Regions from separate parts of the Homo sapiens genome. Here regions 1, 3, 4 and 5 are each linked to region 2. Evidence: promoter capture Hi-C in human tissues and cell types (Jung and others, 2019). All regions are on one chromosome and are shown on one strand. Each heading gives the region's core, a stretch centred on a gene start or on the middle of the fragment in contact. The rest is flanking DNA. Distances are from core to core; before and after follow the strand shown.

Region 1 (5,681 bases), core at 1,069-3,568, 690 kb after region 2:
CTGAGATTACAGGTGTGCCTCCCACCATGCCCAGCTAACTTAAAAAATATTTTTAATAGAGATGAGGTTTCAGCATGTTGGCCAGGTTGGAAACCAACTCCTGGCCTCAAGTGATCCACCCACCTTGCCTCCCAAAGTGCTGAGATTACAGGCATGAGCTACTACACCCAGCCATTTTTTTTATTTTTTGTAGAGACAGAGTCTCACTACATTGCCCACACTGGTCTCAAACTCCTGAACTCAAGCAATCCTCCTACCTCAGTCTCCCAAAGTGCCAGGATTACAGGCATGAGCCACTGCACCCAGCCCAAATGTGATATTCCAAAGGATGCAGGTGGCTGTGTTGGGATGGCCAATGAAGGTAAGGGACAATGGAAGTACAGGGTGAGGGCAATGAACAGGACATACCTGAGAGCCTGGTTATTGGCCTTGACTATGGGAGTGCCTTCACAAAGACCCGAAAGACCCCCCCACAAAGAGGTCATAGAAGGACAGACCCAAATGGTCATTATAAACAAGGAAGGTAGCCACGCTGACAGGTAGCGATCTCACTTACAGTTTGAGTCTTGATGCTTTGTCCATGGTGTTCACTGTTCTGCATCTAATTAGAAACAAGAGGATGCATTTTGTGAGTTTCAGCAATTTAGAACTAAACATGACCTTTGACAGCCTTGGAAGCATTGTTCCCCCTGCATCTACCTGTACACACAGAGCTACCAGAAGGGTGGATCATGGGAGTTTTCAAGATTACACTGTCTCCTCTATAATGGGAAAAATGAAATATGTTTCTACTTTAAAAAAAAAATTTAGAGACAGTCTCTCTCTCTCCCAGGCTGGAATGCAGTGGCACAATCTTGGCTCACTGTAACCTCAAACTCTTAGCCTTGAGATCCTTCTGCCTCAGCCTCCGAAGGAGCTAGGACTACAGGTGAACACCATACCCAGCTAATTTTTAAAAATTTTTTGAGAAATGGGGTCTCGCTATGTTGCCCAGGCTGGTTTTGGGCTCTTGGTCTTTCCAAGTTCTGTAGGGACACTTTAGAAAACTTATTTGAGATAAATTTCCTTCCACTTTACAGCAACACGGATGGAACTGGAGGCCATTATCCTAAGTGCGATGATGCAAAAACAGAAAGTCAAAAACTGCATCTTCTTACATATAAGTGGGAGCTAAACAATGGGTAAACATGGACATACAGAATGGAATAATAGACACTGGAGATGCCAATAGGTTGGACAGAGAGGGGGGATGAGGGATGAAATATTACCTATTGGGTACAATATACACTCTTTGGGTGATGGGTGCACTAAAAGCCAGACTTCGCCACTATGAAATATATCCACGTAACACAAGTGCATTTGTAACCATAAATCTACAAAAATAAAAATAAAAATGAAAAGCAATAAAAACATGCTTAAACTAAAAACAAACAAACAAAAAAACAACGAAAACAAACCATTTCCTTCCAGAGTAAAACGCAGTTTACTGAGCACGTCTCATAGATCGTGATTGGTCTGAAGAGTCCCTGTGCCCAGGTTAGGGTTGCAATTTACCACCCGAGCCAAGTGCTCGGGTGTCCTACGGATTGTTTTTTCTTTCTTTCCTTTTTTTTTTTTTCTTGGGATGGGTTCTGGCCATGTTGCCCAGACTGAACTCAAACTCCTGGAGTCAAGCGATCCACCCGCCTCAGCCCACCCACCCCCCGACCTCCCCCACCGCCCCCACCACGCAGTAGCTGGGACTACGGGTGTGCGCCACCAAGCCCTGCCTTGGGGTTCCTTTTCTAAAGTGCCAAATGTGTGGAGGTGGGGAAAAGAAAGGTGGACGCCTCAACGCTGTTATGGTCAAAGATTAAAATGCAACCACACTTTTTATTACACATGATGGGGTAACCGTCTGTTTATAAACAAGGGTCACTATTCCACGAGAGGCCTTACAACATTATGCCAAGCCCCTGGTACCTGGAGGACATCAGACCCTCCTGTTCCTGTGCGGCCTTGACTAGACGACCACTTGCTCTGGACTTGCTCCTCGAGGGGTCGCTCCATCTGGAAACTGAGACTGGAATTCCTGCGCATCCCTGTCCCCGCATCCAGAAACACTGCAGGAAGACTTCCGTGTCCGACCCGAGATCCGGAACAATTTCTGCTTCAACACAATTGTCCACGGAGGGCACCAGTTCCGTCCCACCGGCGGAAGCGAGATCTGCCTAGCTACTAGACCTGCTGCCTAGCTGTCATTCGGACAAAAAGGGGCGGGGCTGTATAATTGTCCAATCAGGGGCGGCGCCGGAAAGGAGGGTACGGCTACGCTGCGCAAATGCGTGCTACGTCACTGTGCGATCGGGTTGTGCTTAGCTTGGGGTCTCCTGGCCCCTTGACGCGTCAGGTTGCTGTACCCCTGCATCGGATGCGCTGTACCCTGCGCTGGCTCCGTGAACCTTAGGGACAACACCGGGACACCCGCGAGGCCGGAAAATGGTGAGTGTGCAGGGCCGGACTAGTTGGAACCGGCCGTGATCGCGGGACCCGGGCCTCCCCACGGTCACCTCCGGCCGCAGTGTGGGGCTGGGCTGGCAGCTGGAACTCCAAGCGTCCTGTCCCGTCCCTGCGCGGCGACTGCGGTCCCAGCCCCGGAGCCCTCTCTGGACAACTCCGCGCCCGCAGCCCCGCGTCTTTCCCAGATCGTGCAGGGACCACGGGAGGGTCCTGGGGAGAATCCCGCCTTGTGTGTTTGGTTTGTGTGGGAGGAGCTACAGTCTGGGGTTCCCAGTCCCTTCTTTCTTCCCAAAGGCTGTTTCCCCCTGAGTCTTCCAAAGATGTTGGAAGCAGAGTCTCAAATCCACTACCCTGTCCCCCCAGCCTAGCTCCTCCCACGGCGGGCCATTAATCCCTAGATTTCCGGATCCCTCCCCGAATTCCCAAACGCCTACTTCCGCTCGCCAGTGGAAAACATCGTCACCAACTCTTTGTCCTGTGTGGTGCATTTCAAACACACGCAGTATTTTAATAATCTTTTTTCCAATAGATGCCTCTTTTAAACGATTTATTTCTTGTTTGTGGATATTTTACATCAGAGAAAAATCAGAAAAATTATTCACTTGGAACTAATCTGCATAAAATGCTGTGGCCCTCATCCTGGTACCTTTCCAGGGCACAGACATCCTATGGGAACTCCTTTGCGTTGAGGTTCCTTTTTGTAAACTTTCCTGGGTAATCTATCTTTTCAGCACAGTTTCAGATTGGCACTGTCCCGCCTTGGGTTTATGACCTTGAAAAGATTTATTCACTCGAATGTCATTTTTCCAATAAATATAAAATATATGTTATCAGAAGAACTTGAGAGACAGTACAAAATATTTCCAAAGGGCAAAAAAGAAATGAATCTCAGAAAACAAAAAACATCCCAATATTACATTTGTTAAAAATTCTTTGTTCTTTCCCTGAGCACATGGAATATGTTTCTCAGGTCTGTTCTTTTAGTTTGATGTTTCAGATGGTATTCCAGGACTTAAACTTGCAACATCTAGAAGCATTCAGATAGAAGTAATACTTTTGTAAACTATTTATTGCCATGGAAATAATTAACTGACATTATTATTTTCTTTTTTTTTTTTTTAACAGATGGGGTCTGGCTGTGTTGCTCAGGCTGATCTTGAACTCCTGGGCTCAAGCGATCCTCCACCCTCAGCATCCCAAAGTGCTAGGATTCCAGGCATGAGCTACTATTACCGGCCCAACATTCTCATTTTCTGAAAGCAATAGTGGGTTTTCTTGTTAAATGGCTTAAAATTTTCTTGCTTCCTTCCTTTATTTATTTATTTATTTATTTATTTATTATTTATTTACTTTTTTTTTTGAGACGGAGTCTAGCTTTCTCGCCAGGCTGGAGTGCAGTGACACGATCTCAGCTCACTGCAACCTCTGCCTCTCGGGTTCAAGCGATTCTCCTGCCTCAACCTCCCAAGTAGCTGGGATTACAGGCACAAGCTACCACGCCCAGCTAATTTTTGTATTTTTTTTTTTTTTTTTTAGTAGAGAGTGTTTCACTATGTTTCCCAGGATGGTCTCAATCTCCTGATCTCCTGACCTCATGATCCTCCCGCCTTGGCCTCCCAAAATGCTGGGATTACAGGCATGAGCCACCACGCCAGGCCTTTTGCTTCCTTTATACGTAAACACTGTGTTTAAGTAATTCTGCTGGATTTTTTTTTTTTTTTTTTTTTTTAAAGACCAAGTCTTGCTCTTTTGCCCAGGCTGGAGTGCAGTGGCACAATTTTGGCTTACTGCAACCTCCGCACTTGGAAGCTGAGGAGCCACAGGCAGATGCTGTTAGGGGAAGAGGGGAGGATGTCTGAGGTTTTAATTGTGGTTTCCTTGGGTGTGTTTTTAGACATTACATTTGAGTTTCACATCTGTAAGGTAGGTACACTGAGTGTAATTGGTGCATATTGACAGCCATTCTCCTGCCTTAGCCTCCCAAGTACCTGGGATTACAGGCACACACCACTATGCCCGGCTAATTTTTTTGTATTTTGAGTAGAGGCGGGGTTTCACCATGTTGGCCAGTCCGGTCTCGAACTCCGGACCGCAGGTGATCCACCCGCCTCAGCCTCCCAAAGTGCTGGGATTATAGGTGTGAGCCATCGTGCCAGGCCTTCTGCTGGATGTTTAAGGAACAATCCTTAAGAATTTAAGGGCCCGGCACGGTGGCTCATGCCTGTAATCCCAGCACTTTGGGAGGCCAAGGAGGGCGGATCACGAGGTCAGGAGCTCGAGACCATCCTGGCTAACATTGTGAAACCCCGTCTCTACTAAAAATACAAAAAATTAGCTGGGCGTGGAGGCGGGCGCCTGTAGTCCCAGCTACTCTGGAGGCTGAGGCAGGAGAATGGCGTGGACCTGGGAGGCGGAGCTTGCAGTGAGCCGAGATCGCGCCACTGCACTCCAGCGTGGGTGACAGGGTGAGACTCCATCTCAAAACAAAAAAAAAATTTAATTAAATTGTCTCATTTAAAATTACTAGTAGTGTTCCAGAGCCTTGTGACTGGGGAGCAGAGGCCTGAGATAAGTGATTCCAAGCTAAGTCCACCTTTGAGCCTGCAAAGAAAGATCATTGAAGGCCCAATTGGTTCTTCCTGGGGAGCCTCCCCTACAGGTCTGCCAGCTACTCATATGCCCACCATGGAAGGATCCTCTTGTACTGAAAGAAACTGCAGAGCACTTGGAAGCTGAGGATGCACAGGCAGATGCTGTTAGGGGAAGAGGGGAGGATGTCTGAGGTTTTAATTGTGGTTTCCTTGGGTGTGTTTTTAGACATTACGTTTTGAGTTTCACTTCCGTAATATAGGTGTACTGGGTGTAATTGGTGCATATTGACAGTGTCTGTGAAGGTCAGGACTTATGTTTCCTAGAGACAGGGTTAATGAATTGGGGAGCTCATTTGCATCAGAACCTCAATCTCAATCTGGTTGAGAGTTTCCTCACTTGGGAAAACGGAAACCTAGGGAAGCTAATGTTTCTTTGCTGCCATAGGAGAGAAGGAGGTGTGGAGCTCCCATAGTTCCTTGCTGATCAGGTGCTTCTATCCTCCATTACCAGGTACTGACCCACTCTAGGGGTTACATTTTTCTTTATTTTTATTTTTTTTGAGACCGAGTCTCACTCTGTTGCCCAGGCTG
Region 2 (5,634 bases), core at 2,177-4,676:
TTAGTAGAGACAGGGTTTCACCATCTTGGCCAGGCTAGTCTTGAACTCCTGACCTCAGGTGATCCACCTGCCTCGACCTCCCAAAGTGCTGGGATTACAGGCATGAGCCACTGCGCCCGGCCCTGAAATGGAAATATTTCAAAGGGAAAACATCTAACGTTCAAGTTATTATCTATAGAGCAGTTAACAGGAACTATCATTTAGGGTCCATCGTGAGGCAGAAATTTAAAAATAATAAGTACTGAATTTATTTACTCCAAGAAAAGTAAAAGCTAAGGCCCAGAGTGTGGCAAGGCAAGGGTTAAAAAGAAAAAAGAAAAGCACAAGTTTTCCTCTGCCTAGCAGCTCACTTCCAGGACCTTATCAAGAAGATAACGATGTCCAAATAGCCAAGGCCAAAGGAATGGGCTCCAGACACCCCTCCCTTCCAGAGCAATGTTGAAGGAAAAAAAAAAAAGAGACAGATTCTTTTACTGTTACTCTTTTGCAAGTCTTCTTAAGCATTATTATGTTTTACAAATGTCTGTATTTAGCCAGTTCTTGTTTTTCTTTCAATGCAGCTACAAGGACACTGGCTATGCAAGGTCATAAATTATGTTATGCTATAGATTACATGACCTGTCACTGTATGATTAACTGCTTTTGTTTGGCATCTGTAAGACAGCGTATAAAAACCCCACTTTGTCTTCGTTCAGTCCTCAGCTTTTTGGATATGAATCGTCTGAGCCAGTGCGTACCTAAAATATAAACAAATCCTCCTGTACTCCATATTGGTCTCTCCTTCCTCAGTTTACCACAACAATGGGATTCTAGGACACTAGGTATGAAGCAAATATGAGGAAGTTCAGGGAACAAGCTGACTTAATGATTAATGCTGAAGGTTCTGCAGCTTGGTTTAAGTTTTCTCCTCCCATCCTCCCTGATGAATTTGATAAAGTTTAAAGGGATGGTTTCACCAGGGGCCTTTTCCATTGACTGCAAGGAGGTCATCCGCCTGGTAAATCCTCAGTAGGCCAAGCCTCTTATGTGGCCAGAATGATCCAGTCCATAAGGAAATACCACCTGCTGTGTTTTACAATTAGACCATCCAAGGGGGTCAGGGTTTCCCCGGGGAGTCTGGTGGGCTTTTTATGGGTTTTTTTGTTTTTGATTTTTTTTTTTTTTGAGACAGTGTCTTGCTGAAGTTCAGTAACCTGATCACAGCTCACAGCAGCCTCAAACTTTGGGGCTCAAGTGATCCTCCTGCCTCAGCCTCCTGAGTAGCTGTGATTACAGGTACACACCACCTCTCCTGGCTAATTAAAAAATAGATTTATGGAGATGGGAGTGTCTCACTTCACTGCTCAGGGTGGTCTTCAACTTCGGGCTTCAAGTGATCCTGCCACTTTGGCCTCCCAAAATGTTGGGATTGCAGGCATGAGCCATGGCACCTGGCCTCCCAGGCTGTTGTTGAAAGGTCTTTGCAATCTCTAAGAGTTCTGCAGCAGTTTATTCCCTGACAGCGAGAGTCTCATCCTTTGATCCCATTTTGCAGCAGTAGTTGGGTGTTCACTTTTCTTTCCATAAGGAAGCAAGCTTGCCAGTGACCCTCATCCCCCTCCTCATCGATGACTTCTTTGTCATCAGAGCCTTCCTCTTCATAAATTCCCACGGAATCCAAGTTTTCACGTCCCGATTGGGCTTAGTTATGATAGCTACTGGCTCACACAAGCTGCAACAGCACCCCGTCCCATGGAAGCCACCCGACTCTCTCCTCCCTGAGTTTCCTGTCCTGGGAGCCCCCATCTCTGCTCTCCCGGGCTCCGGGCCCTAGAGCCGCACTGCTGCAGAGCCCAGTTCCCAGGGCAGCTCCCTCCACCTATCCACATCCATCTCCAGCTCTCCACCCTCTCTCCCACCAGCCTGGCCTGGAGGTGCTGCAGTGTCATTGACTGCGAGTCCCTCAGCTGCCACCTCCACCGCGATCTGGAAGTCTTTCAAATGCCCTTAAGTTATCTTAGATTTTTCCTCCCCCACTTTATACATAAGCATAGGAGGAGAGCAGGGACTCTGCTGGTGTCTTATTTACACAATGGGATTGAAGGTGTTTGTCTCGCGAAACTAATCGATGGGGTGAGAAGTAGCTGAATAACCTGCAGGGGGCAGCAGAGCCCAAGGCCAGTGATTCCACGTTGAGGACAGTCTCTGCAGCCTGCAAAGGGAGGGAAAGAGAGTTTCCCTGGGGGCTTCGCGGGCAGCCCACCCCCTTCTACAAGTGGCCTCCAGCTGCTCAGAGCAGCTCCAGAAAGGGTGTGGATTCCGAGAAGCTGCAGAGCCCTGGAAAGCAGAAGACCCATGTGCAGACGCATTTGTGGCGTCTCTGTCCTTTCTGGTGTTGTACCTCTGGAGCTGTCTTCTGGGCAGGGTTTGGGGTTTGACATGCATGGGGTCGTTGGGGTCAGAGTTATTTGTATAGATAAAGAAAATGTGTGGCCGGGCGCGGTGGCTCACGCCTGTAATCCCAGCACTTTGCGGGGCCGAGGCGGGCGGATCAAGAGGTCAGAAGATCGAGACCATCCTGGCTAACACGGTGAAACCCCGTCTCCACTGAAAATACAAAATATTAGCCGGGCGTGGTGGCGGGCGCCTTTAATCCCAGCTACTCCGGAGGCCGAGGTAAGAGAATGGCGTGAACTCGGGAGGCGGAGCTTGCAGTGAGTCGAGATCGCACCACTGCACTCCAGCCTGGGCTACAGAGCAAGACTCCGTCTCAAAAAAAAAAAAAAAAAAAGAAAGAAAGAAAAGAAAATGTGTGAAGATCAGGCTAGAGCTAGAGACAGAATTGTTTGGTGGCGTCACCTGGATAAAGGGTTCATGAAGTTGACAGTTTACTTAGGTCAGAAACAAAACCTGGTGAGAGTTTCCTGCTGGTGAAAATGAAGATCTGAAAGGAGGAAGCATTTTCACAAGGGGATGGGGGTGTGTGAGCAAGGCTTGGCCACGCCTCATCCCCAATTCCGGCCCGCTCGAGGACATATGCCTCTCCTCCTGGTGCAGTCGTGCCTGGCCTGGTCTCGGTTCCCCTGCTGCTCTGAGGCCAGCAGTTGGCTCCTATGGACACTGAGTCTGAAATTCCCTGCACACTCCTGTGACCCCGTGCAGAACGAAGGAGCGGGGACTGTCCCTTGAGTGAGGATGACGCTAGTGTTCTCTTCTATCAATAGCAAGTTTGGCTGAAATGCAAATATCCAATAACCAGAGTGCAGAAAGCAGCTCGCCCTTAGAGAAGCTGTGGCTAGAATCCGTCAGTCTGGCTCTGCGGGGCCTGATACCCAGGGCTTCAGCTGTCACTCAGATGTGGGGGGCGGGACCTAGTATTTCATCCAATCAGAGGTGCTGGGGCGTGGCACTGCCCACAGTTCATCCGGAAATGGAGGGGGTCGCTTTCCTCACCTTCCTCGCTGCGCGGGCGGCGGTTGGTAACCGGTCAGACCAGCCCGAGAGGGACCTGGTGCCTGTACCCAGGCTTCTGTCGCTCTGTCGCCTGCGCTATGCCCTGCTGTAGTCACAGGAGCTGTAGAGAGGACCCCGGTACATCTGAAAGCCGGGAAATGGTGCGTGTGCGGGACCAGATGTCGTGAGACGGGGGAGGGGCTGCCTGGAACAGGCGGGAACCGGCTGTGGCGGGACCCGGGCCTCCCTGTGGGCGACTCCGGGGTCTGGGACCGAGTCCTCCTTGAGCAGTTCGGCCCTCGGTCCCCTTGGCCGCTGGACGGGGCTGGGCCAGCAGCCAGGACCCGGGCGTCCTGTCCCGTCCCTGCGCGGCGACTGCGGCCGCGGCCCCTGCCCCGGAGCCCTCTCTGGGCAGTTCCGCTCCCGCAGCCCCGCGTCTCCCCAGATTGTGCGGAAGCAACGGGAGGGTCATGGAGGCATCCTGACTCGGGTGTGGGGTTCGTGCGTGGGAGGAGCAGTGGTCTGTGGGGCCCCCAGTCCCCACTTTCTCCTGTTAAAAATTAAACTGAGGTACGTTAACAATTAAAGAGTTCATTTGAGCAAACAGCGATTCACGAATGAGAAACACCCCGTCCTGGGTTGTGGTTTGTCAACGGAAAAAGCCAAACTATGTAAAATAAAGAAGTTTATTCAGAGCCGAATAGGAGAGACCTTGGCCGAGGGAAACACAACCCCAAGCAGCCTGGAGTAAGTGGTCCCGAGGCGGCTCAAGACAGTTTGGTTTTATTCATTTCAGAGAGACAGGAATTGCAGGGAAAATGATGAATCAGTGCCTGAAAGGTGTAAGTTCCATTGGCAGAAAGGGTGGGACCTGTGGAAGGGGGGTTAGAAGGCACAGGTGGTTGAGGGATTCTGTAGGTGGCAGCTGGTTGAGAGTGTGAAGTTTGTCTAAAGTTTGGAGGAGGTAGGAAGGAAGGGGGTCTGTTATCTGCCACTTGATTCCATCCCAGCCAGAAAACAGACCTGTTTCTCTAGATTTTATGAATTCTGAGGCGTGACTTTACTTTTGCCTTGCGTGGCCTTAGGTTTTGTTTGTAAGTTAGTATCTTCTTGCCACAAGCAGTCTGTTTTTCCATTCTATCTATTTTTACATGAATGTGTGGGAGAGGGTATAAGGAGACCTGTCTCACCTCCCATCCTGTCATACAGAGGCACTCAATTTTCAGGGTTTTTTGCGGGTCCTGTTGGCCAAGAGCCGGTCACTTCACTTAGCTGGAAAGGTACTTTGTTTTTATTTGAGACGGAGTCTCCTGTCGCCCAGACTGGAGTGCAATGGCCTGATCTCGGCTCACTGCAACCTCCACCTTCCGGGTTCAAGTGATTCTCCTGCCTCAGCCTCCTGAGTAGCTGGGATTGCAGGCATGCACCACTATGCCCTCCTAATTTTTGTATTTTTAGTAGAGATGGGGTTTCACCATGTTGGCCAGGCTGGTCTCGAACTCCTGACCTCAAGTGATCCACCCACCTCAGCCTCCCAAAGTGCTGGGATTACAGATGTGAGCCATCTCGCCGGGCCAGAGGTATGTTTTTATTTTTAGTTTACCAGTTTAGGGGTAAGCTTTTATAAGTTACGTGAGGAGACAAACCAGATAAATGCTTGATTGGTTGCAGAGATGCAGTTGCCTTATTTGGACTTGTCACTCCGAAATAATAGAAAGGTCAAGATTTCAGTTGGAAGAGTTTATTCAAGCGGAAGGATAGCAGTGGCCCATTTGGGAAAAACACAGACTCTAGGGAAATAGACTCAGTACTCCAAAACTGGAAGTTAAGTTCTTGCTTGTATTACCAGGAAAAGAGGTCCTGATCAGACCCCAGGAGAGTTCTTGAATCTCACACAGGAAGGAATTCAAGACGAGTCACAAAGTGCAGTGAGAAGAGAGTTTATTGAAAGCTACTCTGGGCCAGCATGATGGCTTAGGCCTGTAATCCAAGCACTTTGGGAGGCCAAGGTGGGAGGATAACTTGAGGTCAGGAGTTCGAGACCAGCCTGGGCAACATAGTGAAACCCCATCTCTTCCAAAACTAGCAAAAATTAGCCGGGTGTGGTGGCCTGCACCTGTAGTCCCAGGTGTTCAGGAGGCTGATGTGAGAGAATCACTTGAACCCCAGAGGCAGAGGTTGCAGCCCAGCCGAGGATGTACC
Region 3 (5,835 bases), core at 607-3,106, 800 kb after region 2:
TGCGGCCTCCCCCAATCAGACCCAACCAAGCCCCACCGAAACAGGCCCCTACACACACCCGATCCTCGCGACGTCCCCCAATCAGGCCCCAAGCAGTCCCCAGACGCTTCCCCCAATCAGATCCCCTCCAGCCCGACCCCAGCAGTCCCACTGGCCCTCTTCTTGAGGAGCCCCGACATGGCCTGGCTCCGAGGCCCCACCCCCTAAGCTCTGCTCGGTTCCCCCCTCCCCCGCCCGGCCCGTTCTAGCTGCCAGGAGGATCGGGCCCAACCGGCTTCCCGGCCTTTCCCGGTCGGGCGCGGCCCCGACGCCCGGGCCGCGCGCGGCGCAGGCTCGGTGCCCGGCGGGGGTCGACGCAAGCCGGGGCCAAGAGGGTCGGGCTCTGAGTGAGGCCCACTTACCCGGCCCCGGGCAGCAGCGGCGGCAACTCGCGCTGCGGCTTCTCCAGAGACTCGCGCGGAAGGAGGGAGCCAAAGAGAGAGAATTAAAAAAAAAAAAAAAAAAAAAAAAGAAAGAAAGAAAAAAAAAAAAGAAAAACGCGGCCGTAGGTGAGCCGCCGCGGCTCCCGTACTCCGTTCAAACTGGTCCCGCCGAGCCAATCGGAAGGTTCAACCTTCACACGTGCCCTGGCACTTGGGAAACCCGGGCTGAGACAAGGTCCGGTCACGTGACCAAAGAGTTGCCGTTTCTTTGGCCTCTCTAGCCAGCCGGTCCTCCCAGTGTCTCGTTTTCCCAGCATCTTTCACTGACCTGACCGCAAGCTCTTTAGCTGGAGCCAGGAGTTTGGTAGCGCGTGGGGACTTTGTGTGTGATGGATCCAGGAACCCCTCGGCCAGAGCCAGCACCCTCCTTGTCACCTTCCTCCACTAAAAATTGAAATGTGCCTCCCTTCCCCCATCCAGAGGTACTTGGGAGGAGTACGCTGTGTGTGCGCAAGGAAAGAGCTGAGCGTGCTCTTTATACCCCAGAGACAAAGGAAAGAAAGCAGGACAAAGTAAGTGCCTGAGACAAGCCGGGTTCCTACAGAAGCCTCTGCCACTTTTTGCATTATTTTCCAGTACTGTTTGATAGTTTTTACAAGGAGATGAAAAAGCCACAAGGATATAAATTTTTGAATAAAACGAAATGAACTAATAAAATAAACTTTGAACCACGCCTAATCCCTTTCCCTACCTGAAGTTGAATGAGGTGGAACAGCGCAGGAAATTCTGGCAAGGGCAGGGTCATGAAGAAAGAAATCTTCTTGATCCTTGCGACGTCTGAAGACAGTAGGGCACCGTTTTTCCTTCTCTTGAGAGAGGAGCAGATGGTAAAAAGCTGGAGACCCTGTAGCGTCTTGGTTTCCCCTCCCTGCCCTGCCGATAACAAAGTGGGAGACCTCCTGCCACTTGAAGCCTCAGTTTCCCCACTTGTCAAATGGGTATAAGAGCAGTTCGCGCGATTAGAGATCATCCAAGTTAAGCATGACCTGGCCAGCTCTGAATTGTTCCTTAAAAACGTGGCTTTACCCTCCAAGGCTCAAGGCTGTTCTTTTACTGTATTCAGCCCCTCCCTAAGCCGATATTTAATGAATTCACCAGCTCTAATCCCAAAGAACAACCCACCCTGCCCTGAGGAACTTTTTGACCCTCGAGAGAGGCAGAGGTCAATTTTTGCCCCTGCCTGAAGGAGGGGAACAGCTATCTCAACCCACTTGCCGTAGGCAAAGTCAGTCCCGGCTCCGTTCATTCATGAAAATCAAGTCCCGGGCCTCCAAGGTTAGGGAAGTGTCGGCAGGCGCCTAACTCCACTCGGAGAATCGCGGAAGACACCCTAAAGGAGCAGTTGGGATTCCGAGGTAGCCAGTTCCGCTGGACTGAAACCTGGGCTGAGAAACACGTGCAGAAAGCCGCCACCAAGGCATGCGTAAAGGCCTCCCTCTCCCCCACCCTCCGATAAGCCCTGGAACTACAAATCCCGTCCTGCCATGCGCCAGGGTCGCCGCGCTTTGGGGTTTTGGCTGAGACTCAAATTGGCAGGAGGGTCTCTAGACCAACCGAGGTGCATGGGGAGCAGAAGAGTGAGACTGGGGAGCTGGGGCTGGATTTGGGGGTTCCTGGAGCGAGTGTGAACGATAAGAGCTTTCTGGTCAAATTTGGGGGCTGCCCCAGATAAAGATCAGATGGGGAGCGAGTTTGGGATGCAGGAGACAATTTGTTAAGGTTCACCCCCTTCATATAATATGGCAAATTTTCAGCGGCCCTCCGCAAGCCTTGGGGCAGAACAAAGTAGCCCCTGCTGCATGTGTGGTCCACATTGTTGGCCCTTGTGTGGTCACGGAATTTTTTCTTCCTCTCCAGCTGGTGAATTTGAGTGTTGAATCAGGACAAGGTTTTGGGTTTTTGTTGTTTTGTTGTTTTTGTTTTTCTATTTCTTTGTTTTGTTTTGTTTTGTTTTTGAGACGGAGTCTCGCTCTGTTACAAGGCTGAAGTGCAGTGGCGCGATCTCAGCTCATTGTAACCTCCGCCTCCCGGGTTCAAGCGATTCTCCTGCCTCAGCCTCCCGAGTAGCTGGGATTACAGGCATGCGCCACCACGCCCGGCTAATTTTTTTTAATAGAGATGGGGTTTCACAATGTTGACCAGGATGGTCTTGATTTCTTGACCTCATGATCTGCCTGCCTTGGCCTCCCAAAGTGTTGGGATTACAGGCGTGAGCCACCGCGCCTGGCTTTTTTTGTTTTTTTGTTTTTTGAGATGGTGTCTTGCTCTCATTGTCCCGGCTGAAGTGCAATGGCTCAATCTCGGCTCACTGCAACCTCCGCCCCCGGATTCAAGCGATTCTCCTGCCTCAGCCTTCCGAGTAGCTGGAATTACAGGCGCCTGCCACCACGCCAGGCTAATTTTTTGCATTTTTAATAGAGATGGGGTTTTGCCATGTTGGCCAGGCTGGTCTTGAACTCCTGACCTCAGGTGATCCACCTGCCTCGACCTCCCAAAGTGCTGGGATTACTGTGCCCGGCCCAGTTTTCCTATTTCTTTCTTTCTTTCTTTTTTTTTTTTTTTTTTTTTTTTTTTTTTTTTTTTTGAGACACTGTCTTGCCCTGTCGCCCAGGCTGGAGTGCAATGGTGGGATCTCAGCTCATTGCAACCTCCGCCTCCGGGATTCAAGCTATTCTGCCTCAGCCTCCCGAGTACCTGGGACTACAGGCACCCGCCACCACACCCAGCTAATTTTTGTATTTTTAGTAGAAACAGGGTTTCACCATATTGGCGAGGCTGATCTTGAACTCCTGACCTTGTGATCTGCCCGCCTTGGCCTCCCAAAAAGTGCTGGGATTACAGGTGTGAGCCACCGTGCCTGGCCTTTTTTCCTTTTTTTTTTTTTTTTTTATTTTGAGGTGGAGTTTTGCTCTTGTTGCCCAGGCTGGAGTGCAATGGTGCAATTTCGGCTCACCACAACCTCTGCCTCCCGGGTTCAAGTGATTCTCCTGCCTCAGCCTCGCGAGTAGCTGGGATTACAGGCATGTGCTACCACGCCCTGCTAATTTTGTATTTTTAGTAGAGACCGGGTTTCTCCATGTTGGTCAGGCTGGTCTCGAATTCCCGACCTCAGGTGATCCACCTGCCTTGGCCTCCCCAAGTGCTGGTATTACAGGCATGAGCCACCATGCCTGGCCTTTTTTCCTATTTCTTAAGCACCTACTGCATGTCAAGTGGTTTCCAAATGTTATCTCATTAATACCGGATGTGGTGGCTCATGCCTGTAATCTCAGCACTTTGGGAGGCCGAGGGCAGATCACGAGGTCAGGAGATTGAGACCATCTTCTGGCTAACACAGTGAAACCCTGTCTCTACTAAAAATACAAAAAAATTAGCCAGGAGTGGTGGCCTGCGCTTATAATCCCAGCTACTCAGGAGGCTGAGGCAGGAGAATCGCTTGAACACGGGAGGCGGAGGTTGCAGTGAGCCAAGATCACACCACTTCACTCCAGCCTGGGCGACAGAGCGAGACTCTGTCTCAAAAAAAAAAAAAAAAAAAAAAAAGGCCAAATGTTATCTCATGCAAATCTCACAACAGCCCTATGCCTGGCAAACTTACCCTAGTTCAATTAGAAGCTCTCTGTGCCAAAAGAAACTCACAGAATTGGTGTCCAACCAGCCGGGCGCGGTGGCTCACGTTCATGCCTGTAATCCCAGCATTTTGGGAGGCCGAGGCGGGCAGATCACAAGGTCAGGAGATCAAGACCATCCTGGCTAACACGGTGAAACCCTGTCTCTACTAAAAATACAAAAAAAAATAGCCAGGCGTGGTGGCGACCGCCTGTAGTCCCAGCTACTCGGAAGGCTGAGGCAGGAGAATGGCGTGAACCCAGGAGGCGCAGCTTGCAGTGAGCCAAGATCGCGCCACTGCACTCCAGCCTAGGCGACAGAGCGAGACTCTGTCTCAAAAAAAAAAAAAAAAGAATTGGTGTCCAACCGCGAATCTGAAATGTGAGACAAACGTGTTCTCAATTTACAGCAGCCTCCCTTCCCAAGCCTCTCATCACACTGTCCCCCGAGTTCAAAGGTCAGCACTTCAACTAACTTAACACAGTCCCCAAACGCAAGCCAACTTCTTCACCCTGGAAAGCACTAGCTGTTTTAAACAATGGCAGGGTTAGATTCTATGAATATTGCCCTTACTTTAGAACTTGACTCTAGAGATGCTTCTTTATTTTACCCCTATTTGATAGATGAAGAACCTGAAGTACAGAAAAGCTAAGTGACTTACCCAAGATCACACAGTCAACAGGCACTAGAATAGTCAGAAGCCAGGGCTGTGTGACTCACCAAAACCTGGATATGATTCTCCTCCCTCTTCAGACTTTTCTCAGGTCAGAGCAGGTAAGTACTGTAAAGGGATGTGCCTGGACTTTCAGCCTCTCCTGCCTCTTGACACTAGAATAGAGGCTGAGATGCTGCAGGGCGACCTACTTCCCAGGCTTCTGTTGCTTTTTAAAGATCCAGTCTCTGCTGGTGGCTTTGGGGGAGGAGGAGGTAGGGATGGCTCCATTAGCTTCCTGTGTTCCCTCCCCCCATACTCCACCCCCAAGGCCAAAGTCACACCTGGGCTAGCTTAGCATCCCCAAAGTAGGAGGGAGAGACCTTTCAGCCCACATGCAAAGTAAAGCAGAAAAACCTTATTGTGTGTTAGCAGGAAGCGAAAGAGGAAAGGTATCCTATTCTTTTTTTTTTTTTTAATTTTTTGAGATGGAGTCTCACTCTGTTGCCCAGGCTGGAGTGTAGTCACTGCAACCTCTGCCTCCCCAGTTCAAGCGATTCTCCTGCCTCAGCCTCCCAAGTAGCTGGGATTACAGGCGTGGGCCACCACCCCCAGCTAATTTTTGTATTTTTAGTAGATAGGGTTTCACCATGTTGGTCAGGCTGGTCTTGAACTCCTGACCTTGTGATCTGCCCGCCTTGGCCTCCCAAAGTGCTGAGATTATAGGCGTGAGCCACCACGACAGCTAGGCTGTTTGTTTTTTTTTTTTTTGAGACGGAATCTCACTTTGTTGCCCGGGCTGAAGTATAGTGGCACAATCTTGGCTCACTGCAACCTTTGCCTTCTCAGATTCAGGACATTCTCCTGCCTCAGCCTCCCGAATAGCTGGTATTACAGGTGCGCGCCACCACGCCCGGCTAATTTTTTGTATTTTTAGTAGAGACAGGGTTGCACCACATTGGCCAGGCTGGTCTCGAACTCCTGGCCTCAAGTGATCCTTCTGCCTCAGCCTCCCAAAGTGGTGAGATTACAGGCGTGAGCCACCACGCCCAGCCAACTTTTATTTTTTGTAGCAAGAAAGGTCTTGCTGTG
Region 4 (5,782 bases), core at 3,273-5,772, 840 kb after region 2:
GCCCCCCAATCTGCCCCACCCTGTGTGTTAGCTTTGTCCTTCCAGGTGATAAGGCCAAAAGAAGTCATGTGGATTCCTATTCCCGCCACAGGCCATCACATCAACCCAGTGGCCACACCAACCCAGCAGCAAATCTTATCAGCTTTGCCTTTATTTTTATTTTATTTATTTATTTGTTTTTGAGACGGAGTTTCGCTCTTGTTGCCCAGGCTGGAGCGCAATGGCGCGATCTCGGCTCACTGCAACCTCCACCTCCCAGGTTCAAGCAATTCTCCTGCCTCAGCCTCCCGAGTAGCTGAGATTACAGGCATGCACCACTACGCCCGGCTAATTTTGTATTTTTAGTAGAGACGGGGTTTCTCCATGTTGGGGCTGGTCTCGAACTCCTGACCTCAGGTGATCCGCCCGCCTCAGCCTCCCAAAGTGCTGGGATTACAGGCGTGAGCCACCGCGCCCGGCCGAGATTTGCCTTTATTTTTATTTTATTTTTGAGACGGAATTTAACTCTTGTCACCAGGCTGGATTGCAATGGCATGATCTTGGCTCACTGCAACCTTCGCCTCCCGGGTTCAAGTGATTCTCCTGCCTCAGCCTCCCAGGTAGCTTGGATTACAGGCGCCCACTACACCCAGCTAATTTTTGTATTTTTAGTAGAGACAGGGTTTCACCATGTTGGCCAGCCAAAGTGCTGGGATCACAGGCGTGAGCCACCGTGCCCTGCCAGCTTTGCCTTTAAATCGTATCTAGAATCCAACCATTTCTCACTCCTCCAGGACCCCAGCCTGGCCAGAGCCCTCACTATCACCCACCCACCCACCTGGACTACCAACCAGGTCTTCAAGCTCTGGCCCTGGCCTCCTAAGCCTGTTTCTCCCAGAGTGGCCACCAGAGGGCGCCTATGAACACCCGAGCCAGGTCACATCCCTCCTTTGCTTAGACTCTTCCGTGGCTCCCACAGCACTTAGAATAAAAGTTAAAGTATTCTCTGCAGCCCACAAGTCCCTGAATAATCTCCCCACCCTCATCTGCTTTCTTTTTCTTTTTCTTTTTTTTTGAGACAGAGTCTCGCTGTATCGCCCAGGCTGGAGTGCCAGTGGAGCCATCTCGGCTCACTGCAAGCAAGCTCCGCCTCCCGGGTTCACGCCATTCTCCTGCCTCAGCCTCCCGAGTAGCTGGGACCACAGGCACCCGCCACCACGCCTGGCTAATTTTTTTGTATTTTTATTTTTATTTATTATTATTATTTTTTTGAGACGGAGTTTTGCTCTTGTTGCCCAGGCTGGAGTGCAATGGCATGATCTCAGCTCACCACAACCTCCGCCTCCCAGATTCATGCGATTCTTGTGCCTCAGCCTCCAGAGTGACTGGGATTACAGGCGTATGCCACCACATCCGGCTAATTTTGTATTTTTTTTTTAGTAGAGACGGCGTTTCTCCATGTTGGTCAGGCTGGTCTCAAACTTCTGACCTCACGTGATCCGCCCGTCTCAGCCTCCCAAAGTGCTGTGATTACAGGCGTGAGCCACTGTGCCCGGCCGCATTTTTTTGTATTTTTAGTAGTGACGGGTTTCACCGTGTTAGCCAGGATGGTCTCGATCTCCTGACCTCGTGATCTGCCTGCCTCTGCCTCCCAAACTGCTGTGATTACAGGCGTGAGCCACTGCACCCGGCCTTCTGCTTTCCTTTTATTTTTTGAGATGGAGTCTTGCTCTATCGCCCAGGCTGGAGTGCAGTGACACAATCTCGGCTCGCTGCAACCTCCGCCTCCCGGGTTCATTCTCCTGCCTCAGCCTCCCGAGTAGCTGGGACTACAGGCACCTGCCACCACGCCCGGCTAATTTTTTTGTATTTTTAGTAGAGACAGGGTTTCACCATGTTAGCCAGGATGGTCTCAATCTCCTGACCTTGTGATCCGCCAGCCTCAGCCTCCTAAAGTGCTGGGATTACAGGCATGAGCGTGAGCCACCACGCCCGGCCTTCTGCTTTCTTATTCACTCCACTCCAGCCACTCTGGTCCCCTTACTGTCCCTCCAGCACACCAAGCGAGGTGTCATCTCAGGGCCTTTGTGCAAACTGTTCTGCCTGGATCTTCCCCAGGTACTTACATGGCCTCTCCCTCACCTCCTTCAGGTATCTGCTTCAATAATGTCACTTCCTTGGTGAGGCCTCCTTTCTGGGCCTTTTTATTCTTTTTTTTTTTCGATGGGGTCTCACTCTTGTTGCCCAGGCTGCAGCAAGCTATGATTGTTCCACAGTGGTGGCTCACTCTGGTAACTCTGGGCACCAAGGTGAGGGAGATAAAGTGGGCCAGGGTTTAGCCCACTGCTTTTAAGAAAAGCTTAGTGGCCAGGCGTGGTGGCTCACTCCTGTAACCCCAGCACTTTAGGAGGCTGAGGTGGGCGGATCATCTGAGGTCAGGAGTTCAAGAACACCCTGGCCAACATGGTGAAACCCCGTCTCTACTAACAATGCAAAAATTAGCCAGTCGTGGTGGCATGCGCAGGTGGTCCCAGCTACTCAGGAGGCTGAAGCAGGAAAATCCCTTGAACCCAGGAGGCAGAGGCTGCAGTGAGCCAAGATCGTGCCACTGCACTCCAGCCTGGGCGACAGAGTGAGACTCCATCTCAAAAAAAAAAAAAAAAAAAAGCAACAACAACCAAAAAACAAAACCACCACACATTCACAGACACACAAACGTGATCCTCACCTACCTCTGGTTGGTGCTATTGGTCACTCACATTTTAGTAAGAATGCAAGCCAAGCTTTTCTTTCTTTTTCTTTTTGAGATGGAGTCTTGCTCTGTTGTCCAGGCTGGAGTGCAATGGCATGATCTCAGCTCACTACAACCTCTGTTTCCCAGGTTCAAGCGATTCTCCCACCTCAGCCTCCCGAGTAGCTGGGATTACAGGCATGTACCACCATGCCCTGCTAATTTTTGTATTTTTAGTAGAGGAGGGGTTTTGCCATGTTGGCCAGGCTGGTCTCAAACTCCTGACCTCAGGTGATCCACCCGCCTCAGCCTCCCAAAGTGCTGGGGTTACAGGCGTGAGCCACCGTACCTGGCCGCTAAGCTTTTCTTAAAAGCAATGGGCTAAGCCTCTGGCCCACTTTCTCTCCCTCACCTTGGTGCCCAGAGCACAGCCAGGGCAGATTGAACGCCTTTATTTTTCTCAAATATAAAATCAGAGTCTCCTGAGGCAGCACATGAACTCCAGAGAGAGAATCAACAACAAGAATCACATTGCTAAAAAGAACAGGCCTATATCTACCTCCCGCCCTCCCTCCCCACCAATCTGGGAGAGGGAAGAGCAGAGATCATGGCCTCAAAGCTCTCGAGCACCTGGCTGAAGCCCAGTGCTGGGCGCCATGTGAGCTGGAGGAAGCCAGGGTGGGTGGAGCCCAGGCTGGCTTGATTGTGAGGTCTGTCAGTGCTTGTCAGTGGGGCGAAGGTTCAGAGATGCCAGGCGTCCCAAGGGTCCACGGCGAGAATTGGTTGCCAGCCGCTGCTGTGCCAGGAATGACTGGGCATGGGCAGGCGCCCGCTCCTCCCCAGCTCGCTGCTGCAAGGCCATGCCCTTCAGGAGGAGGTGTGGTTGGGGTCAGGTGAGCTCACAGGACCCCCCCACCAATATTCTACCCATGAGATCTTAGAGCCCAGACCCCACACTTACCATATTATACCAGGCACTGATGAGCAGCTTTTCTTCCTGCTCCCGCTGACTTCGGCTTTTCTCAAAGTCCATCTGTCAAGGAGGCAAGTGTCAGGGGCCTAGATACGTTGGAGGCAGCGTAAAGGGACGAGGACACCCACCTCCAGGTGTCGGATGCGGACATCCCGTTCTCGGAGCTGTGTCCTCAGGGAATGGAGTTCTGGAGGTGCCCCCGCAGCTGGCCGCTGCTTGGGTTCCATGGTCTGCATGACCTACAGGTTGAGGAAGTCATAGCCAGGTGACTTTGGCCTTGAAACCCCCTGGGACATACTGGGGTGTGTGTATTCATTCATTCTTTCATTCATTATAGAGACAGAGTCCCCCTATGTTGCCCAGGATGGTCTTGAACTCCTGGCATCAAGCAATTCTCCTGCCTTAGCCTCCCAAAGTGTTGAGGTTACAAGCATGAGCCATTGTGCCCATCCAGCCAGTACTTTATTTTTACTTTATTTTTATTTTTATTTTTGTGATGGAGTCTGGCTCTGTTGCCCAGCCTGGAGTGAAGTGGCGCACTCTCAGCTCACTGCAACTTTTGCCTCCCGGGTTCAAGTGATTCTCCTGCCTCAGCCTCCCGAGTAGCTGGGATTACAGGCGCATGTTACCAATCCCGCCTAATTTTTCTATTTTTCGTAGAGACGGGGTTTCGCCATGTTGGCCAGGCTGCTCTCGAACTCCTGACCTCAAGGGATCAGCTGCTTCAGCCTCCCAAAGTGCTGGGATTAGCGGCGTGAGCCACTGCGCCTGGCTGTGCGTAATTTTTTTTTTTTTTTTTTTTTTTTTTGAGATGGACTCTTGCCCTGTCGCCTAGGCTGGAGCGCAGTGGCACAATCTCAGCTAACTGCAACCTCCGCCTCCCGGGTTCAAATGATTTTCCTGCCTCAGCCTCCTGAGTAGCTGGGATTACAGGCACCCACCACCATGCCCAGCTAATTTTTGTATTTTTAGTAGAGATGGGGTTTCACCATGTTGGCCAGGCTGGTCTCAAACTCCTGACCTCATGTTCCGCCTGCCTTGACCTCCCAAAGTGCTGGGATTACAGCCATGAGCCACGGCACCCAGCCAGCTGTGCAGTATTTTAATGTGACAATCAGTAGCAGTGGGGAATCATGCAGAAGTCTGTCTTATGGTGGGGTATGACAGGTATGAGTTGGGGGCACAGATGTGCAAGCAGGAGGTTTGACTCAATAGGAGGCACAAAAAGTAAGAAGCCAGGGCAGGCAACTTGTGGGAACACCCAGCGTCCTCACCATGCGGGCCTTGTCCACGTAGCGGCGGTATCGCTCCTCCATGGCCCGCAAGTCCGCGTCCTTCTTCTGCAAGTTATGCTGCAGCTCCTCGATCCGCCGGGCTGCTGGCGGAAGAGGTGGCCCATCAGCTCCACGCTGCTGGGCTCTGGGATCTCCCCACCCTCTGGTCACTAGGTCCTACTTACTGCTGCTGTCAGTGGGTGGCTCCAGCTCCTCAATGTACTCCCGCTTCCTCTGCAACTCCAGATCTGCCTCATGAAGCTTCTGCCTGTGGGCCGGGGATGAGCAGCAGTGGGCTGACCTCCGGGCTGGCTTCTCTTTTGTCCCAGTGGTAGCCACAGACCTCCCCGCCAGCCAGAAATGCCCCTACATGGCCACAGAGCCCTCTCTGCCTGCCCCTCATGCCTGGGGCTGTGTGCCCTGGTCCCACCGGCTCCACAGCTGTCAGAGCCACAACCCTCCGCACCCTTAGCAGGTATGCCCCGGAACAGCCCCTGCTGTCCACTTCTTCCCATCCCACAGCTCCCAAGCTGGTTCAGCCACCATCTTCCCTTGCTAGCTTCTTCTACTCTCAAGCACTCCATCCAGCAGCCAGGGATCTTTCTAGAATACAAATCTCTTCAATAGCAGACAGGTAAAAGAAAAGAAAGCAGGCCAGGCGCGGTGGCTCATGCCTGTAATCCCAGCACTTTGGGAGGCCAAAGCGGGTGGATCATCTGGGGTCAGGAGTCCGAGACCAGCCTGGCCAACATAGTGAAACCCCGTCTCTACTAAAAATATAAAAAATCAGCCAGGCATGGTGGCACATGCCTAAGAAACTCCCCA
Region 5 (5,744 bases), core at 487-2,986, 520 kb after region 2:
AGGAATGGAAACTAGGGTTGGGAAGAAAAGGTGAGTGTCCCAGGAGTTAGCTTTTTACAGGAATTATATACCAGAAGATTCCTCCCATCCCAGTGGATCCAGTTGCTCCCCAGGGGGCCACACCTTCCATCTCAGGCTGTCCCCTGGGAGGAGTGACCCAGGGGATGATATTCACTAGACCCTCCAAGAGACTTGGCAGCTGTGGACATCCATTTTTTTTGAGACAGGGTCGGCCTCTGTTGCCTAGGCTGGGATGCAGAGGCACGATCATAGCTCACTGCAACTTCAAACTCCTGGGCTCCAGCCATCATCCCACCTCAGCCTCAGGAGTAGCTGCGACTACAGGTGCCAGCTACCAAGCCCAGCTAATTTTATTATTATCATTTACACTAGAGACAAAGTCTTGCCATGTTGCCCAGGCTGGTCTGGAACTACTGGGATCAAGCAATACCTCTGCCTTAGCCTCCCAAGGTGCTGGAATTACAGGAATGACCCACCGTGTTCAGGAACCCAAAACAATTCTTTCAAGAAAAAGCCATACATTGCTAGCTGAAAACAAGATGACAAACTAGTGAAATATCGCCTGGGGCCAAACAGTTCATACTGTTGCTGTGAATTAAGGACAGAAGGTTAGCCTGGGGAAGTCTCTGGAAACCAAGAGATTTGCTGCCAGCCCTAGGAAGAGTCAGGATGAGAGAACACAGTGGTGGATTTGAGACCCTGCTGCCCACGTCTTTGGAAGACTCAGAGGGGAAACGGTCGCCCTTGGAAAGGAAGAAAGGACTGAGGACCACGGAAACCACAGCTCCTCCCACACACAAACCCCACACACGAGTCTGGATTCCACCTGGTGACTCGTCGTCACCGTGCAGCCTCCTCACCGGGTTCACAGGAACTGCGAGCCAGGCTGGAGGCGAGATTGCAGTTAGATATTAAACAGGTGCCCTCAGCCCCGCTGCCTCAAGGGGCCGCCTCCCTGAGAGTCAGGTCACAGCAGACGCTGACCGCCGGCTTCCCCATTGTGCCTGGGGATAAGATCTCCGAGTGCTGCTCAAGAGTCGCCGGAGTTCTCAGATCCTGAATCCCAGCAGAAAGGCTGGCGCCAACCAGGTTGAAGACCCCACGAGGGAGCCCTCTCAGCAGAATGCGGTTTCTTCACCTCCTGTCCCAGGATTCACCCCTCACTTCCCCACCAACCAAGGACGCTACACCCAGCCGCCCCCGTCCAGACCCCAAATCCCTCAGGGAGGCGGATCTGGGGTGTCCTCCCCTCTCCTCCTGTTAAACCGTTTCTGCTGCAGCCCTCGGCGTCTCGGTGCAGTGAGTCGGGCCGCGAACCTGTGTTGGTTACAGCCGCACAATCTGGGGAGACCCGGGGCTGCGGGCTCGGAGCTGCCCAGAGAGGGCGCCGGGGCCGCAGTCGCCGCGCAGGAACGGGACAGGACGCCCGGGGTCCCGGCTGCATGCCCAGCCCCACCCTGCGGCCGAGGGCCGACCTACGCCAGGGGGACCCGGGTCCGTAGATCCCGAAGTCGCCCTTGGGGAGGCCCGGGTCCAGCCACAGCCGATTACGGCCGGTTCCACCTAACCCCTCCCCCGCCTCGGGACGCCGGCCCAGCACACGCACCATTTCCCGACTTCCGCGGTGTCCCAGGTCCTACCGACAGCTCCCGCTGCCAATGCGTGTTCCAGCCAGACAAAGGCTGCCTCAGAACTTCCAGGTCGTCTCTCAGCTACAGAACCCAGAGCCGAGCGCAGGTGGGTGGAGCAGACGCCGCGGGCTTTTTCAACCACACACACTTCTCTGGGCAGTGCCTGATTGACAGTTCCCACGAACCCGCCCCACGCCCCTGATTGGATAGGGCGTCAGGTCCCGCCCCCTGAGGGCTGATTGACAGAAGAAGCGATCTTGCACAGCTGAGTGGAGCCGGATGAGCAAGTTCCTGACACAGCCCTTGGCAGGGGGGGCTTCCTCCCTGCTCTTTGATCTGAATCCTCCCGGGTTATATTTGCACTTAAGCGGAATTTCCTGCCCGTACTCAATAGGACCTCCTGCTTCTTCCTCCTGGACACGGACTGACAAACTAATTATATCTTTTTTTTTTTTTTTCCTCGAGAGGGAGTCTTGCTCTGTCGCCCAGGCTAGAGTGCAATGGTGCGAGGCTCACTGCAACCTTCGCCTCCTGGGTGGGTTCAAGCAATTCTCCTGCCTCAGCCTCCCGAGTAGCTAGGATTACAGGCACGCGCCACCACCCGGCTAATTTTTGTATTTTTCAGTAGAGGCTGGGTTTCACCATGTTGGCCAGGCTGGTCTCAAACTCGTGACCTCGTGATCCGCCTACCTTGGCCTCCCAAAGTTCTGGGATTAGAGGCGTGAGCAACTGCGCCTGGCTCCAATTATGCTCTTTTTCAATGAAATTTTTCAAGATTTTTCAATGTACAATTAAATTATTTTTTACTATAGTCACTCTGTTGTGCTAGCAAATACTAGGTCTTATTCATTCTTTGTAACTATTTTTTATACCTATTAACCATCCCCACTTCCCCCATAACTACTCCTCGCTACTACTTTTCGCAGCCTCTGGTAACCATCCTTCTACACATTTTTGGTTGTTTGAGATGGGGTCTTGCTCTGTTACCTAGGCTGGAGTGCAGTGGGGCCATCATGGCTCACTGCAACCTCTACCTCCTAAGCTCAAGCAATCCTCCCACCTCAGCCTCTCAAGTAGCTTCAGATTGTTCACTGTTGGCATATAAAAATGTTATTGATTTTTGTGTGTTGATATTGTATACTGCAACTTTACTGAATTTATTTCTCAGTTCTAATACTTTTTTGGTGGAGTCTTTAGGTATTTCCAGATATAAGATCATATTATATGCAAACAAGGATAATTTGACTTCTTCCTTCCCAATATGGATGCCCTTTATTTCTTTTTTTTTCTTTTTTTTTTTTTTGTCTTATTGCTCTAGCTGGGACTTCAAGTACTGTGTTGAACAACAGTGGTAAAAGTGGGCATTCTTATTGTGTTCCAGATCTTACAGGAAGGGCTTTCAGTTTTTCCCCATTCATTATCATGCTAGCTGTGGGTCTGCCATATATAGCTTTTATTATGTTAAGGTATGCTCCTTCTTTACCCACTTTTTTTTAGGGTTTTTATCATGAAGGGATGTTAAATATTATCAAAAGCTTTTTCAGTGCACATTGAAATGATTATATGGTGTTTGCCCTTTATTCTGTTGAAATGATACATCACATTGATTGATTTGCATATATTGAACCATCCTTGCATCCCAGGGATAAAGCCCACTTGGTCATGATGAATGATCTTTTTGGTGTATTGTTAAATTCAGTTTGCTAGTATTGAGTTGAGGATTTTTGCATCAATATTCATCAGTGACACTGGCCTATAGTTTTCTTTTTCTGACATGTCTTTGTCTGGTTTTGGTGTCAAAGTAATATTGGCTTTGTAAAATAAATTTGGAAGTATTGCCTTCTCCTCTGTTTTTTGGAATAGTTTGAGTAAGATTGGTATTAGTTCTTTTTTAAATGTTGGTAGAATTCAGCAGTGGAGCCACTGGGTTCTGGGGTTTTCTTTGCTAGGAGACTTTTTATTATGGCTTTGATCTCATTATTTGTTATTGGTCTGTTCAGGTTTTTTATTTCTTCATGGTTCAATGTTGCTATGTTCTATCTGCCTAGGAATTTATCAGTTTCTTCTAGGTTTTCCAGTTTATTGGCATATAGTTGTTCTTAGTTGCATTAATGATCCTTTGAATTTCTGCAGTATCAACTGTAATGTCTCCTTTTTCACCTCTAATTGTATTTATTTGGGCCTGGTTTTTTCTTAGTCTACCTCAAGGTTTGTCAATTTTGTTTGTCTTTTCAAAAAACCAACTTTTTGTTTCATTGTTCTTTTCTATTGTTTCTTCATTTCAAATTCATTTATTTCTACTGATTTTTATTATTTCTTTTCTTCTACTGATTTTGGGTTTGGTTTGCTCTTGCTTTTCTAATTCTTTAAGATGCATTCTTAGGTTGTTTATTTGAAGGTTTTCTTCTTCTTCTTTTTTTTTTTTTGAGATGAGTTTCACTTCACTCTTGCAGCCTAGGCTGGAGTGCAATGGCGCAATCTCAGCTCACTGCCACCTCTGCCTTCTGGGTTCAAGCAGTTCTCCTGCCTCAGCCTCCCAAGTAGCTGGGATTACAGGCACCGACCACCATGTCATTTTTTGTATTTTTAGTAGATACAGGGTTTCACCATGTTGGCCAGGCTGGTCTCGAACTCCTAACCTCAGGTGATCCACTCCCTTTGGCCTCCTAAAGTGCTGGGATTACAGATGGGAGCCACTGCACCCAGCCTGAAGGTCTTCTTCTTTTTTGATGTAGGTGCTTATATCTATAAACTTCCCTCTTAGTACTGCTTTTGCTGTATTCCATAGGTTTTGGTATGTTGCATTTTCATTATCATTTGTTTGAAGAAACTTTTCAATTTTCTTCTTAATTTCTTCATTGACCCACTCGTCATTCAGGAGCGTATTGTTTAATTTCCATATGTTTGTATGGTTTCCAGAATTCCTCTTGTCATTGGTTTCTAGTTTATTCCACTTATTCTGTGACACAATTTATATTATTTCAATTTTTCGGAGCGTTTTAAGACATGTTTTTTGACCTAACATATGGTCTATCCTTGAGAATGATTCCTGTGCTCAGGAAAAGTATGTGTATTCTGTAGCTGTTGGATAAAATGTGCTGTAAATATCTATTAGGTCCATTTGATCTATAGTGTAGATTAAATCCCATTTAATCTTTCTTTTGTCCAATTTTTCAGTATATATTGAAATAATCTTTGTTGATTTACTGTCTGGAAGATCTGTCCAGTTCTGAATATGGGGTGTTAAAATCTCCAGCTATTAGTGTATTGGTGTCTATCTCTCTCTCTCTCTTTTTTTTTTTTTTTTTGAGACAGAGTTTCACTCTTGTTGCCTAGGCTGGAGTGTAGTGGTGCAATCTTGGCTTACTGCAGCCTCCACCTCCAAGGTTCAAGCAATTCTCCTGCCTCAGTCTCCCAAGTAGCTAGGATTACAGGTGCCCACCACCACACCTGGCTAATTTTTTGTATTTTTAGTAGAGACGGGGTTTTGCCATGTTGGCCAGGCTGGTCTTGAACTCCTGGCCTCAGGTGATCCACCTGCCTTGGCCTCGCAAAGTGCTGGGATTACAGGCATAAGCCACCATGCCCGGCCCTCTCTCTTTTTACCTAATAATATATGTTTTCTATATCTGAGTGCTCCAATGTTGGGTGCATATATGTTCACAATTGTTACATCGTCTTGCTGAATTGACCTCTTTATAATTGCATAGTGACCTTCTTTGACTTTTCTTACAGTTTTTGTCTCGAAATATATTTTGTCTAAGTATTGCTACTCCTGCTCTTTATTGGTTTCCACTGGCATGGAATATGTTTTTCCATTCCTTTATTTCCAGTCTATGGGTTTCTTTATAGGTGAAGTGTGTTTCTTGTGGGCAACAGATCATTAGGTCTTGTTTTTTTAATCCATTTAGCCATTCTATGATTTTTGATTGGATAGTTTAATTCATTTACATTCAGTGTTATTATTAGTAAGTGAGAACTTACTCCTGCCATTTTGTTATTTGTTTTCTGGTTGTTTTTTCATCTTCTCTCCCTTCTTTCCTTCCATCCTGTCTTCTTTTTAGTGAAGGTGACTTTCTCTTGTGGTATGAT

The links. Contacts are between HindIII fragments. The study calls those that stand out against the background at their distance.
Region 1: a contact is called between the fragment with the promoter of ZNF791 here and the fragment with the promoter of ZNF700 in region 2, in 3 of the 25 tissues and cell types used here (IMR-90 fibroblasts, lymphoblastoid cells and mesenchymal stem cells).
Region 3: a contact is called between the fragment with the promoter of TNPO2 here and the fragment with the promoter of ZNF700 in region 2, in 1 of the 25 tissues and cell types used here (spleen).
Region 4: a contact is called between a fragment that was not itself captured here and the fragment with the promoter of ZNF700 in region 2, in 1 of the 25 tissues and cell types used here (heart left ventricle).
Region 5: a contact is called between the fragment with the promoter of ZNF443 here and the fragment with the promoter of ZNF700 in region 2, in 1 of the 25 tissues and cell types used here (dorsolateral prefrontal cortex).

What each region holds. Positions count from the first base shown.
Region 1 is chr19:12,608,602-12,614,282 of GRCh38, forward strand. ZNF791 (zinc finger protein 791) reads left to right here and starts at 2,319. Exons shown (of 4, transcript NM_153358.3): 1 at 2,319-2,481. The coding sequence starts at 2,479. ZNF490 (zinc finger protein 490) reads right to left here and starts at 2,212. Exons shown (of 5, transcript NM_020714.3): 1 at 1,963-2,212; 2 at 557-601. The coding sequence starts at 2,079. RefSeq lists enhancers at 1,881-2,100, 2,431-2,490, 4,216-4,285, 4,730-5,230 and silencers at 2,231-2,290, 5,206-5,365. The HindIII fragment of the contact is 50,335 bases long and covers 1-5,681 here.
Region 2 is chr19:11,921,681-11,927,314 of GRCh38, forward strand. It overlaps ZNF700 (zinc finger protein 700), which reads left to right and starts at 3,427. Exons shown (of 4, transcript NM_144566.3): 1 at 3,427-3,593. The coding sequence starts at 3,531. It also overlaps a transcript of ZNF69 not described here. RefSeq lists enhancers at 1,333-2,123, 2,124-2,913, 3,070-3,642, 3,090-3,139, 3,190-3,299 and a silencer at 3,690-3,889. The HindIII fragment of the contact is 4,963 bases long and covers 466-5,428 here.
Region 3 is chr19:12,722,076-12,727,910 of GRCh38, forward strand. TNPO2 (transportin 2) reads right to left here and starts at 1,857. Exons shown (of 26, transcript NM_001382241.1): 1 at 1,694-1,857; 2 at 1,174-1,290. RefSeq lists enhancers at 1-390, 391-1,008, 807-956, 1,009-1,627, 1,628-2,244 and a silencer at 217-306. The HindIII fragment of the contact is 34,827 bases long and covers 1-5,835 here.
Region 4 is chr19:12,759,857-12,765,638 of GRCh38, forward strand. HOOK2 (hook microtubule tethering protein 2) reads right to left here. Exons shown (of 23, transcript NM_013312.3): 19 at 5,143-5,225; 20 at 4,958-5,061; 21 at 3,812-3,922; 22 at 3,672-3,743; 23 at 3,147-3,575. The coding sequence ends at 3,426. Among named protein-coding and RNA genes, the nearest start is that of BEST2, 11 kb to the left of the region's middle. RefSeq lists an enhancer at 5,673-5,782. The HindIII fragment of the contact is 3,945 bases long and covers 2,551-5,782 here.
Region 5 is chr19:12,439,285-12,445,028 of GRCh38, forward strand. It overlaps ZNF443 (zinc finger protein 443), which reads right to left and starts at 1,737. Exons shown (of 4, transcript NM_005815.5): 1 at 1,628-1,737. The coding sequence starts at 1,630. RefSeq lists a silencer at 1,416-1,505 and an enhancer at 1,916-2,185. The HindIII fragment of the contact is 16,773 bases long and covers 1-5,744 here.